Regions from separate parts of the Homo sapiens genome. Here all the other regions are linked to region 2. The links are contacts of gene promoters, found by promoter capture Hi-C in human tissues and cell types (Jung and others, 2019). All regions are on one chromosome and are shown on one strand. The core of a region is centred on a gene start or on the middle of the fragment in contact, and the rest is flanking DNA. Distances in the headings are between cores, read along the strand shown. Region 1 overlaps MFSD6 (major facilitator superfamily domain containing 6). Region 2 holds the start of INPP1 (inositol polyphosphate-1-phosphatase). Region 3 overlaps NEMP2-DT (NEMP2 divergent transcript).

What was found. The method cuts DNA at HindIII sites, captures the fragments that hold promoters and counts their contacts. A contact is called where the count stands out against the background at its distance.
Region 1: a contact is called between a fragment that was not itself captured here and the fragment with the promoter of INPP1 in region 2, in 2 of the 25 tissues and cell types used here (adrenal gland and hippocampus).
Region 3: a fragment that was not itself captured here is called in contact with the fragment with the promoter of INPP1 in region 2 in 1 of the 25 tissues and cell types used here (hippocampus).

The regions. Positions count from the first base shown.
Region 1 is chr2:190,484,247-190,488,744 of GRCh38, forward strand. MFSD6 (major facilitator superfamily domain containing 6) reads left to right here. Exons shown (of 8, transcript NM_017694.4): 5 at 4,411-4,498. It also overlaps a transcript of NEMP2 not described here. Among named protein-coding and RNA genes, the nearest start is that of NEMP2, 48 kb to the right of the region's middle. The HindIII fragment of the contact is 7,162 bases long and covers 1-4,498 here.
Region 2 is chr2:190,342,191-190,346,359 of GRCh38, forward strand. INPP1 (inositol polyphosphate-1-phosphatase) reads left to right here and starts at 1,399. Exons shown (of 7, transcript NM_001128928.2): 1 at 1,399-1,771. It overlaps LOC124906109 (serine/arginine repetitive matrix protein 1), which reads right to left and starts at 2,859. Exons shown (of 1, transcript XM_047446773.1): 1 at 1-2,859. The coding sequence starts at 2,126. The coding sequence ends at 1,248. RefSeq lists silencers at 1,385-1,694, 1,765-2,094. The HindIII fragment of the contact is 3,445 bases long and covers 207-3,651 here.
Region 3 is chr2:190,574,878-190,578,980 of GRCh38, forward strand. The region is part of intron 4 of NEMP2-DT (NEMP2 divergent transcript); the gene reads left to right. It also overlaps a transcript of NEMP2 not described here. Among named protein-coding and RNA genes, the nearest start is that of NEMP2-DT, 42 kb to the left of the region's middle. The HindIII fragment of the contact is 4,491 bases long and covers 1-4,103 here.

The DNA.
Region 1 (4,498 bases), core at 544-3,043, 140 kb after region 2:
GTTTGATCTACCAACTTTGTTATCTCATACTTAAAAAGGTTTAAAAATTTGTAATTCTAGTGTAAACACATTTACCCATGCCACTGAGTAAATGTGCTTATTTCATCACATAAAGAATAATCATCTACTGCTTTTTCACAGTTCTCTAATAACTAAGAAAGTAGAAGCATTTTCTTTTTCTAGTTTATAATATCTTTTGTCCCCTCTACTTTACAGGAATGTCGTTTTCGGTAGCACAATTCCTAAGACTTCCTAAATCTTGTCTTACAAATATGGGAAATGGCGGAGGGTTTTCAAGTTTCTAGGTTGCTTTTTTTGTTATTTTAAAACGAGAGAATCAGAACACAAATGTAGTAAAAACATTGGCAAGAGCTTCAGATTATTAAGATTACTAGAAAGTTGCATGTTCCAGTTTATGAACGAGAACTGCAGCTCCACCACTGTCTTTTGTATACACAGATGATGTTCTAATTTAATCCCTTCTTACGGATTGCTACATTTTGCTGGTTTCCTATCTAAGAAATGAGATGAATTTAATTGCTTCTTCACTTATACGATATCTTAAAATAAGTTATTTTAGGGAAATCAATTTTAATCCTGTATCTGCCCTGGAAAACATCAGAGCATACAAGCAGAGTGGCTTTCATTCTTCTGCTTTTAGTATCAGAAATTTTGTTTTTGTGCTTTACTATTTTTTCCTTCACTTAATTCCCTGAGTTAATTTAAAGAATGTAATTCCCAATTATCTAATCAGTCTCAAAAGCAATATAGAAACTAGAAGTCTAACTGTGGAGAATCTTTTACAACTACCACTTAATACTAGTCAGTAAATTCTAAGAATAGTTTAAAAGCATCCTGACTTAAGTCATCCCACTGGAAAATGCTTTAATTATCTTAGAACACTCAAAGTTTTAGAAAATGATTAGAATTTCTGAGAGGGGGAAAATAGATACAAACCCTGTGGTTGGAAGAGTTTGTGTGTGTCCAAGCCTTCACACTTAAAAGAATAACTGCTAGAATTGTTTTTTATCTAGAATTATAATAAATATATTTTAATGTTTTGGTTGCTTGTAAATCCTGCAATTGATTGCTTAGACATACACATAACAAGAGGTTTGGCGTCAGCATTAAAGTTAACCTACTACCATTTGATGTGTTTTCAGGTTTTCGGTAATTCATCTTTAAGAAATGATTTCCAAATCTGTGTTGGATTTTGCTATTGAATCTAATTAATTTTGAATAAATTAATTTATTTCTTGGAATATTTTTGAGTTTTTCCCCCAGTGTGGTTAATGAAAAAAAATCTGCATATGTGAAAAGAAATGGACTTAGCATCATCTTTAATAATAGAAATGAAAATACTTACAATTATTCCCATTAGGTACTATGGTGTCAACACTCATAATTAAGACTATCCAGGCATTATTCAATTCTGAGAAAGCTGGCATTATCTAGGGTATTGCAATTGTTTTGCCAGATAAAGCAAACACGTTATTTGACTTCTTAGGAAATTAACTGTGTATGCTACTGCTAATCATCTAGTCCATCTTACTAGTTAAAAAAAAAAAAAACCTAGTTAAAATGATGACTGAAACATATATAAAACCTAAGAAAGTTATTTTAATGTTTCTTAGTCAACTGTGAGGCATACAATCTAATGTACCCAGTAAAAACAGTGTTTATTCCATTATGGACTGACTTAAGTAATATCATCCCTGATAATTTTTTTATTATGCCAGATATTGTGAATGGTACCTGGTTGGGTGCTGGCTATTTCTGTCTTCCTATAAATATTCTTGAGCTTTGTTCTGGGTCACAGCTAAGTTACTTGGAAATAGTGTGATCCTTTGGGTCTTGCTTTTAAGATTATGTAGATGAGACCAGAGCAGTGTTTAGCCTACGGCTAATTATTTCATAATACTAACAAAAGACCTTGTTGAGTACTCTACCAATCCTAGGAATCATGAGTTGTTCCAGTTTGGCTGGTGGGAAGAAGTGTTCCCCGCCTTGTGTGGGTTCTGGGTATTGTTCTCTGAAATGGTTTTGGGTAGTTCATTCCCTCACTCTGAATAGTGTCTGCACATGTTTTGCTGATCAGTACTCTGCTGAATACGTTAGGGGAGCCCTCTATAGATCTCTGGAGTTTTCTCCCTATGATGCTATCTCCTCTCTGGCATTCTGCCCTGGAACTCTAGCCACCTTGGCTCCCTAGACTCTTGGCTAGAGTCTTCAACTTGGCAGTTCTCTTTTTTTGCCCTGCAGATTTCAGACTCTCATCAGTCAGTAAACTAAAGCTTTTCATTTGCTTCCCATCTCTCAGGGATCACTGTCCTTGTTGCTGATGTCCCTCAGGAACCACTGTCTCATATGTTTTGTCCGGTTTTTTAGTTACTTGAGGAAGGAGAATAAATTTAGTCCCTGTTATTCCATTCTGGCAGAGGCAGACTACTGTCAGATCAAATTTTAAAAGAATTTTGATCTTTTAGTTTAATTTTCCAAAATACGAGTTAAGAGTCTCTGATGATATTATCTCCAAATGAGACTATTTCTCAGGGGATGGAACCAGATGATTTCTTAATCTCGTCTAGCTATAAAACCTGTTGTGACAATATCTGGTTTTTACATTTAAAGCAGTGTCTTAATGAAGGTTTTAATTCAGACAATGCAGTTACTACATAATAAGATAATGACCATTTTTCCACCTGTTATCTCTGTCTTCCTCTCATTCCCATAAATGGTGAAGATATAAAACTGGTAATGGGACATGGTAAATTGTTTCTGCACTCATTTTTTTAACTGAACTATATATTAAGAAGCATGGCTGGGTGCAGTGGCTCACTAATCCCAGCACTTTGAGAGGCTGAGGCAGGTGGATCACGAGGTCAAGAGATCAAGACCATCCTGGCCAACGTGGTGAAACCCTGTCTCTACTAAAAATACAAAAATTAGCTGGGGGTGGTGGCGGGCACTTGTAGTCCCAGCTACTTGGGAGGCTGAAGCAGGAGGATCGCTTGAACCCAGGAAGCAGAGGTTGCAGTGAGCTGAGGTCGTGCCACTGCACTCCAGCCTGGTGACAGAGCAATACTCCATCTCAAACAAAACAAAACAAAACATAAAAATTGTTATATCCTTTGAATCATTAACCCCACTTGTGGAATTATAGCCAATGTAAATAATCTAAGGTATGTAAAAAGCAATGTTAACCATGATGCTAATTATAATGGGGAAAAGTAGAAATAATCTTAATGTCAAAGTAGGTGCCCTAGAATGGATGAATGTCCAGAATATATAAAGAGCTCCTACAACTCAATAACAAAAACCAACCCAATTAAAAAATGGGCAAAGGAATTGAATAAACATTTCTTCAAAGAAGATATAGATGGCCAATAAACACCTAAAAGGTGCTCGACATCACTAGCTATTAGGGGAAAGCAAATCAACAACATGAGAAACTGCTTCACATTCATTATGATTGCTATTTTAAAAAGATATATATAAGTTCTGGCAAGGAGGTGGAGAAATTGGATCTCTCATACAGTTCAGGTGGGAATGTAAAATGGTACAGCTACTTTGGAAAAAAGGTAGTTCCTCAAAGTGTTAAACATATAGTGACCATATCATCCAACAATTGCATTTCTAGTTACCTAGTCAAAATAATTTTTTTTTCTTTTTTGAGACAGAATCTTGCTCTGTTGCCAGGCTGGGGAGTGCAGTGGCGTGATCTTGGCTCACTGCAACCTCTGCCTCCTGGGTTCAAACGATTCCACTGCCTCAGCCTCCCGAGTAGCTGGGACTATAGGCGTGCACCACCACGCCAGGCTAATTTTTTGTATTTTAGTAGAGACAGGGTTTCACCATGTTGGCCAGGATGGTCTCAATCTCCTGACCTCGTGATCCACCCGCCTCGGCCTCCCAAAGTGCTGGGATTACAGGCGTGAGCCACTGCGCCCAGCCACTCAAAAGAATTTAAATCAAAGACTCAGATACTTGCATACCAGGTTGATAGCAGCATTAATCAAAGTAGCAGAAGGAAACAACAAATGTCTATTCACAGATGAAAAGATGAACAAAATGAATGGGAGTCACATTCAAGAGACAGGAAGTAGAATGGTGGTTGTCAGGGGATGGGACAAGGGGTGAGTGTAAGTTATGGTTTAAGGGGTACAGAATTTTTGTTGTGGTGGTGAAAAAGTTCTGGAGATGGATGGTGGTGACAGCTGCACAACACTGTGAGTGTACTCAGTGCCACTGAACCGTACATTTAAAAATGTGAAAATGGTAAATTTTTAATGTATGTTTTCCCACAACAAATCTTAAAAATAGGTGCCTAGTTAAATAATTCACATTTCAAAACAGAGTAGCCTAAGAAATGCTAACCAACTAATCCCTCCTGCTCTTCTTCCTCTCCAGGAGTGACACACGCGGCCATCTGGGCAGCATGCATTTCTTACCTCAGTGCAGCCGTTCCCCCTGAGCTGAGGACATCTGCTCAGGGCAT
Region 2 (4,169 bases), core at 149-2,648:
AGGTGGGAGAATCGCTTGAACGAAGGAGGCAGAGGTTGCAGTGAGCCAAGATCATGCCACTGCACTCCAGCCTGGGCGACAGAGTGAGACTCTATCTTAAAAATAAAAAAAAAAGAAAAGAAAAGAAAAGAAAAATGGACTAGATTTATATCCCTTGCTCCACCCTGTCTTCCCCAAATTTAAATTCCTGCTTCCTAGAGGCAAATTCTTTCACCTTCTATGTCTCTGGTATTTATCTCCTTACTTTTAAGAATCATGTTTAAATTGTTTCTTGATTTTGCCATCATAGATATGATTATGAGGCTAATTAAACAGTAATCCTAACCGCTCTGAGAATGGACCTAAGAAATGAATGTGAGAAAGAAAGTAGAAGCAGCCCACTTGCTAGTGAGTGAAAGCCAGGGAAGGGTGGGGGGATGCGGGGAGAAATTGTCTCAAGTTGGAGAACCCAGGTGCAGGCTGGGAGCAGTACCATGAATTCCATTCAAGAAGCCAAACGTTTTAAGCACCATTTCCTGGAGTTTGCCAAGTTGAGTATTGACCCAGCCTCCTGTCTTGTTGGTTCCTCACTGCTGAAGAAGACCAAGTGTTGACAACTCAGTGAGGCAGTCTCAGCTGGAGTGGAAAAATGTAGCTAAGAAAACGTGCCAGACAAAGCTTTAAGCAGAGCTTCCCAACTGGATGCCGTGAAACGAATGACAGGGATGCAGATACAGCATGGGTCTTCCCAGCCCTCCAAGTGCAAGGGCTTCTGCAGGAAGCCTTCTGCAGGAGCAGCCTCTTCTGTTTACCCCCATTTTGACCCTTGTAATATCATCCTTTCCTACCTGTGCCAAGAAGTGAAAAGGTGTGTGAAGCGCCGCTTTAGAAGGCCCAGTACATTCACAAACATCAGCTTCTGGGCGAGGCTGCTTGGCCTCTTCTATTCAAAACTTTGTGTTGCCCTTTTAAGGTTTCTATTCCCCCCACCCCCACCCCGCCCACCAACACCCATTCCTACCTAGGTTCAACCCAAACCATCCTTAAGGTACACTGAGTATCACAGCACCAAAGGCTGGAGAGAGATAAGTTCCCCACCCTTGATGCGCTTCCTGTCCAGGTGGCCCGAGGCCCACTCCTTAAGAGGCAAGGCCCAGAGACACTGCTGTGTCTTGAGGAACATCCAGTACACCTGACATTTCCATTAGAACAGTGGGACCCGGATACCACTGGCAGGAAGTCCATCTTCACAGCTGCCAACCCATCTGTCAAACCCGCAGTCCCCTATGAGAGTACAGATGAATGGAGGAGGAAGATTTAAAAGTGAATTCGTGGGCGGCGACAAGGAAACAGCAGCCGTGGCCAAGCTGACCCCAGAGCCCTTCCCTTCCTGGCCCTCCCTCTGAATCATCGCGCTCCACTTGTGACGTCGCGGACGCCCGGCTCGGGCAGGCGTGGGGGGCCCGCGCGTCCCGGGAGCCCCGAGGCGGCAGCGCGCGTTTCCACGCCGCGGTCCCGCGGGAAAGCCGGGGGCGGCGGCCTGGCTGAGGCCAAGCTCGGATCCGGTGCCGAGCCAAGCGGGGCCGTGCGTCGCCGGGGCTTCGCCTTCGCTCGCGTGACCTCCGCCGTCCTCCCCAACCCTCGTCCTCTGGCCGCGCCTGCGGCCGCACGCCCAGCGCCCCTCGCCTAACCTCGCGCCCGGGCCGCGCCTCCTCCTCCTCCTGCTCCCCGCCGCTTCCGTTTCTCGAGGGAAAGGCTGCTGCCTCCTGCTCTGTCCTCATCCCCGGCTTAGGTAACACGTTTTCCTCCTTACGACACCCACCACAGGGTCCCCGCGCCGCTGCCCCTCCTCCTTGGATCTGGGGCCCGGGCTGGTGAGCGGCGCGCGCCGTCGCCTCTCCGCGGGTAGGTGAGTCGATGGCGCCGGGAGGGTTCCTCGCCTCTGCGCGCCGGCCTGCGAGGTCCCTGCCCCGGCAGCGAGGCCGCCCCCGGCCGGGCCCGGCCAGGCATGCCCGGCATCGCCGCTGCAGCCAGCGCGGAGGGGAGCTCGTGAGTCCCGCGGCGCCCTTGGCCCTGCCCGAGCGGCCCGATGGGGTTGGGGGGCGGGAAGAAAGGGTGGCAAACAACGATTTTAAAAATCCAGTCATTAGTATTTGTAGGACGAAGAAGCTGATCTGACAGTTGTCCAGAGCAGTGGCCCAGCTGCAACAGGTAGATGGCGCAGCTGTCAGTGACCCCTTGGTCTCAGCCTTGGCTTTGAGAGATGCATCTGAGTGTCCCTAGCTGCCAGCTACCTCCAGTGACCTACTTGATGAGTGTGAAATAAATATGATGGGACTATATTTAGAAAAATCTTTACTTCCTTGCTGTTAATTCTCTCTGCATTTTGAAAGGTGGTTTTGTGAGGTGTGCATAATTAGTTGGTGTGTCCAGAGTGGTAGCTGGAAAAAAATATTTAACCTGGGTTTGGCCCTATCATGTAGACGGTTAGGCGCAAAGAGTGTGAAAGGAAACGCTTACTTTAGTACATCTGTGAAAAACACTTATAAGAAACCACGGCTTGTTTTTTGGAGATTTCTCATTTTAAAGGTATTTTTAAAGTGTTGAATAAGCAGAAGTTTGCCCACTGTATGATGGTGTTCACTTCAAAAGAACAGTGGGTTAAAAGTATGGACAGACCACTTAAGTGGATCCCATCTGTTGAGTAAAAGATTTTTTAGCCCTTTTACACTGATTCCTAGCTTTGAAGCCAGAAAAGTTGATAAGGATCAGCCCTGCTCAACTTGATAATAGTATAAGGATGAAAGTAATCCACTGAACTACTCTTGATTGGTGAATTAGCTAAGTGATCTCATTCTTACCTTTTAAAATAGAGAACATAAGGGAAAAAATAAAGGCAATGGAAGAATTCATTTTTTCAATACAGATATTTGTTTCCATTCTTATGTAGAGCCTACTTTATTTTTAAGTTTTTATGGATTTTTATACTACTTTTGAAGTCAGCTTAGTCATGAAGAGAATTATGTCAAATACATAGAGTTACACTGTACTTTTTGTGTAGAATAAGCTACCACTTTTCAAGCTTTTGGACTAAACCACCGCTTGCTTGGAAATTGCAGCTTTGACTAATGCCCTTTAAAATGATATACCTTATTATAGATTTAAATTATAGCTTTCCTTGTTATAGTCCTGAAAAAAATGAAAAGATAATTTCTTGTTTGACATAGAAGGCCTGTGAGACAAAAGTTATAAAGGTTATTATATATTTATTTTGCTTTTTAATTCTGTCTCTAATAACAGTTAGAAAATGTCTCATTCTATTTCATGTTATACAGAAATTGCTTAAAAGATAATTATGTTATATAAAGTGATCAATGAAAACAAACGTCATCTTCATTTTTTAAAGGTGAGGATGGTGTATATAAGCACTTTTTCCCGATGTGAGTCCTTATGAATGTTCTTGTTAAAATACTTTGAATCTTGTAATGAAGTTAATAAAACTATGTTAATGTGTTTGGCTGAGAGCTTAGAAATAAAGGCTCTGGCTGGCGTGGTGGCTCACGCCTGTTATCCCTGCACTTTGGGAGGCCAAGGCAGGTGGATCACTTGAGGTTAGGAGTTCGAGACCAGCCTGGCCAACATGGTGAAACCCCGTCTCTAGTAAAAATACAAAAATTAGCCAGGCGTGGTAGCAAGCACCTGTAGTCCCAGCTATTCAGGAGGCTGAGGCTGGAGGATCCCTGGAACCTAGGAATCAGAGGTTGCAGTGAGCCCAGATCGCGCCACTGCACTCCAGCCTGGGCGACAAAGCAAGACTTCATCTCAAAAAATAAAAATTAAGTTAAAATTAAAAAAATAAAAGTTCTGCTTCCCGTCTCCTGTGATTGATGTTGGGTACTGTTTCTCAAACTTGTCTGATTGTAAAATTCCTCAGGGTAGTAGGCAAGTCGGGGAGTGGGTAGAGTATAATAGTGGTTTAAAAGATTCCCAGATTGCAACTTGAGACTTCCTGGATCAGAATTTCTAAGAGAAAGGAGATATTTCAAATAGACAAAAATGATAAAATTTTAAAATAGTCAACAACAACAAAAAAGGTGAGTTTGGGAAATGCAGGTGGGAAATGACTATTGTTGGAATGAATAGTTGATAAAACTTATTAGGACTCCTGTACATAAAATGTTCATATATGG
Region 3 (4,103 bases), core at 737-3,236, 230 kb after region 2:
AGAGTCTCACGCTGTCGCCCAGGCTGGAGTACAGTGGTGCGATCTCAGCTCACTACGATCTCCACCTCCTGGGTTCAAGCGATTCTCCTGCCTCAGCCTCCCAAGTAGCTGGGATTACAGGTGCCCACCACCATGCCCGGCTACTTTTTTTGTATTTTTAGTAGAGATGGGGTTTCACTATGTTGGCCAGGCTGGTCTCGAACTCCTGACCTTATGATCTGCCCGCCTCGCCCTCCCAAAGTGCTGGGATTACAGGTGTGAGCCACCGTGCCCAGCCGACTCTGTTTCTTTTTACAGGAGCTCCCAGAATGCCAGTTTCCCACCATCCCCAACAAGTGGTTCTTCCTCCCTCCCACTGCAGTCCCACTCCTAACTCTGCAAAGCTTTGCTCAATTATTTTTAATTCAAAGCTCAAATTCTAAAGTATCTGATATAATAGACTATTTTTTTCTAATTTTTTTTTTTACTTTGCTAAACTTAGAAATTCCTTGTAGTATAATACTAAAGGTTAAAAAAAAAGTGTGTTCTTTTTAAAGCTCTCATCTGTTCATGATCTGATTAGCCAGTTTGTGGCATTTTAAAAAAATCTTTTCCTCTCTTTCATTTTCTCTTTTGAGCCATTTCACAGCTTGTTAGTACTTCTGATAATATAAAGTAGTCAAATAGATGAGATTAAATTAAATTTGCTCTCACATACAACTCTGGGTTTTAAAGGATATTGCTTGAAGGAAAGGTAGGAGGCCGAGGCAGGCAGATCACTTGAGGTCAGGAGTTCAAGACCAGCCCGGCCAACATGGCGAAGCCTCGTCTCTACTAAAAAATACAAAAATTAGTTGGGCATGGTGGTGCACGCCTGTAATCCCAGCTACTTGGGAGGCTGAGGCAGGAGAGTCCCTTGAACCAGGGAGGCGGAGGTTGCAGTGAGCTGAGATTCTGTCACTGCACTTCAGCCTGGGTGACAAAGCAAGACTCCATCTCAACAAAAAAAAGAAAGAAAGAAAAAGAAAAAAAAAGAAATGAATGGTTAAAAAGAACATTACAGATCATCTGTGAATTTTAGTGACCTATATTCATGAGTACTGTGAAATGTTTCTGGTTTACTTTTTTTTTTTTTTGAGGCAGGGTCTCCCTCTGTCACCCAGGCTGGAATGCACAATCGTGGTTTACTGCAGCCTCAACCTCCTGGGCTCAAGTGATCTTAATACTTCAGCCTCCTGAGTAGCTGGGACCACAGGTGCACACCACCACACCTGGCTTATTTTAAAATTTTTTTTCTAGAGACAGGGTCTCGCTATGCTGCCCAAGCTAGTCTTGAATTTCTGGTCTCAAGCAATCCTTCTGCCTTAGCCTCCCAAAGTGCTGGGATTACAAAAGTGAGCCAGCATGCCCTGCCTGCATTACTTTTTGTAATGTTTATTGCCGTGGAAAATCACTGACAACTTGAATCAGGTTGTATTTGTTACTATGAGACTCTTAAATTATCTGAACCGTATGGTTGGAAACAATGATTTCTAGAACTAGCATCAGCTTTCAAGGTTTGTTGATGGAAGAGAGTACTTAAGCTAATAAATGTAACTTGTTAAATGAAACGGGAAACATCAAAATGCAGCTAAGCATTAAGAAAATGAAAGAGAAAAGTTTCCCTAGGAGAGAAGAAATTAATGAAATGTGTATCTTAATGTATCCCTGAAGATGGTATTTCTGCAACATACTGAATTGAGGGTGAATTTACTAGTTTATGGAGCGGGGTGGGGCGGGGGGGGATCTGGTTCTTTTCTCCACTTGTGCTGTGCTGACTTGTTTCGTATGTGTTTTGGATACATGTGGTGATAGCAACCTGTTAGTCTCTGGTAAAACCCAGTCCAAAGATATGTGAAGCCTGGACACGTGAGGCTGAATAAGGATGTCCTAGAGCCATGAAATACATTAACATTGTTGGGCAGTTATGGCAACGGAAAAACAGTGTTAATATAGGGAGTAAGTAGGCACTTTATAGGCAAAGAGGACATGCCTTTTCTGTATGCAACGAGCTTTGCAAATTCTAACTCCACCCTAATTATAACTGCCTTGTTCTCATGAAGTTCACTGTCAGCAACTGTTTATTCACCAGGTACAATATTATGCATAATACACTGGGCTGAGAACTGTGAGGGATACAATTTGGAAAGACAGGGCCCCTGGTCTTAAGATGCCATTGAAAAGCACAGACTGTGTTCGGGAATCAGTAAGTCCAGTGTGTAGATGACAGCGTTAGTGGGGAAAAATGGAATACAGAGTTGAAAGGTGTATTGGAGCCAGATTGTTAGGTTTTTGAATGCAAAATTTATATGTTAGGATGCTATTATTTGGAAAGTGGGGACTTACTCAATTTTTTTTAACATTAAAAGAAAATAATCAAATCTGTTTCTGGCTATTCACATTTTTTTGGTCCCATTGGTATCTTTTTTTAGATGGTACATTTTCAGTGAACAAAAACAGTATCTATTTCGCTTAATGTCCAGTGCAATGTCATAGATTATGTGTAATATTTAGGTTCACGTAAATAATGGCTGTTCTTAAAAATTCACATGTTCTTATTATGGAATGATTAAAGGACCCTCATTTTTCTTAATATTTATTTAGCTAAACTATCATCCTCCTCACCAAGGAATAACAAGAAAGCTGGGCAACTGTGGCAAATTATTTGCCCAAGAGGATCACTTTTAAACCCTAGTGAAGCTGGGAGCAGTGGCTCACACCTGTAATCCCAGCACTTTGGGAGGCTGAGGCGGGCAGATCACCTGAGGTCAGGAGTTCAAGACCGGCCTGGCCAACATAGTGAAACCCCACCTCTACTAAAAATACAAAAAGCCGGGTGTGATGGCGCATGCCTTTAGTCCCAGCTACTCAGGAGGCTGAGGCAGGAGAATCGCTTGAGCCTGGGAAGTGGAGGTTGCAGTGACCCGAGATTGCACCACTGCACTCCAGCCTGGGTGACAGAGTGAGACTCCATCTTAAAAACAAAAACAAAAACAAAAACAAAAAACTTAGTGAAGCTATCAGGTATTGGAGAGCATGGAAATGCTATAAACCAATACATTCTATATTTTATTGATACAGCATTTTTTCAATGTTTTGTCTACAGACAGATCCCAGGGGATTAACATATATTTAAATTACCTAACTTTCCAGTTGGACATAAACAATCTTATCCTTCTCTTTCATTGTCCTTTATATCTTCTGTGGGGTCTCCTGGGCTTGTGTAACTTGTCATAATGGACAGGATGTGAGGGATGCTACCACAGACAGACACCATATTGTAAATCTGAAGAATGGACAGAGGAAAACTTGCAACAGAATTAGAGGAAAGAAGAAATGATGGTGACTATTGCAAAGCCTGGAATGGTTCCCTTGGGAATTTAAGGAGGGAAAACAAGAGTTTCTGTAGTTTCCAGAAATAGAACTGCCTGCCAGCTTCCTTCCATCCTCCCTCTTAGCCTAGCTGCAGGAGAAGAACAGGCAGGCACATGCAGGCTGATGACTTTCCTGCTTGTGACAGCTCCAGATTACAAATGTGCAGAACAAGATTACAGTGCCAGCATTCCCAGGCCCAGGGAGCAAAGGCAGGTGGGCCGGGATGAGGTGAAGGAATATTAAAATAAAATAAAATAAGTACGGGTGATAATGAAAAGAAGAGGAAGTGTGGGGTAGTATATATGGTGTTAAGATGCTAGGAGAAGACTGAGGGCATGAGACAGAAAGCCCTGTACTGCCTGGGCGTGTATCTGAGAGATATGTGGGTGTGTTTGCAGAGGAAGTTGTGGGGGCATGTGTGTGTGCAGAATGTGTGTTAGGGAGGGGTTTTATTGGTATAGGAGTGGGAGGGTGTGTACAGCAGGGTGTGGAGTGCAGGGGTGGAGGGAAAAAAAAAGCGGAGGGAGGGAGGACTTTTATGGAGTGCCAGGAACACCCATTTCACAAAGGAAAATTGCCAGCTGCCAGCAAGTCAAATCTCCTTTGTGGGAACGGATCAGCTCCCCACAGTGGATTCTGGCCTCTGATCTGACCCCAGGATGTTTGCCAGATATTTGACCCCTGAAGGGAGGGACACAGTTTCTGGATTT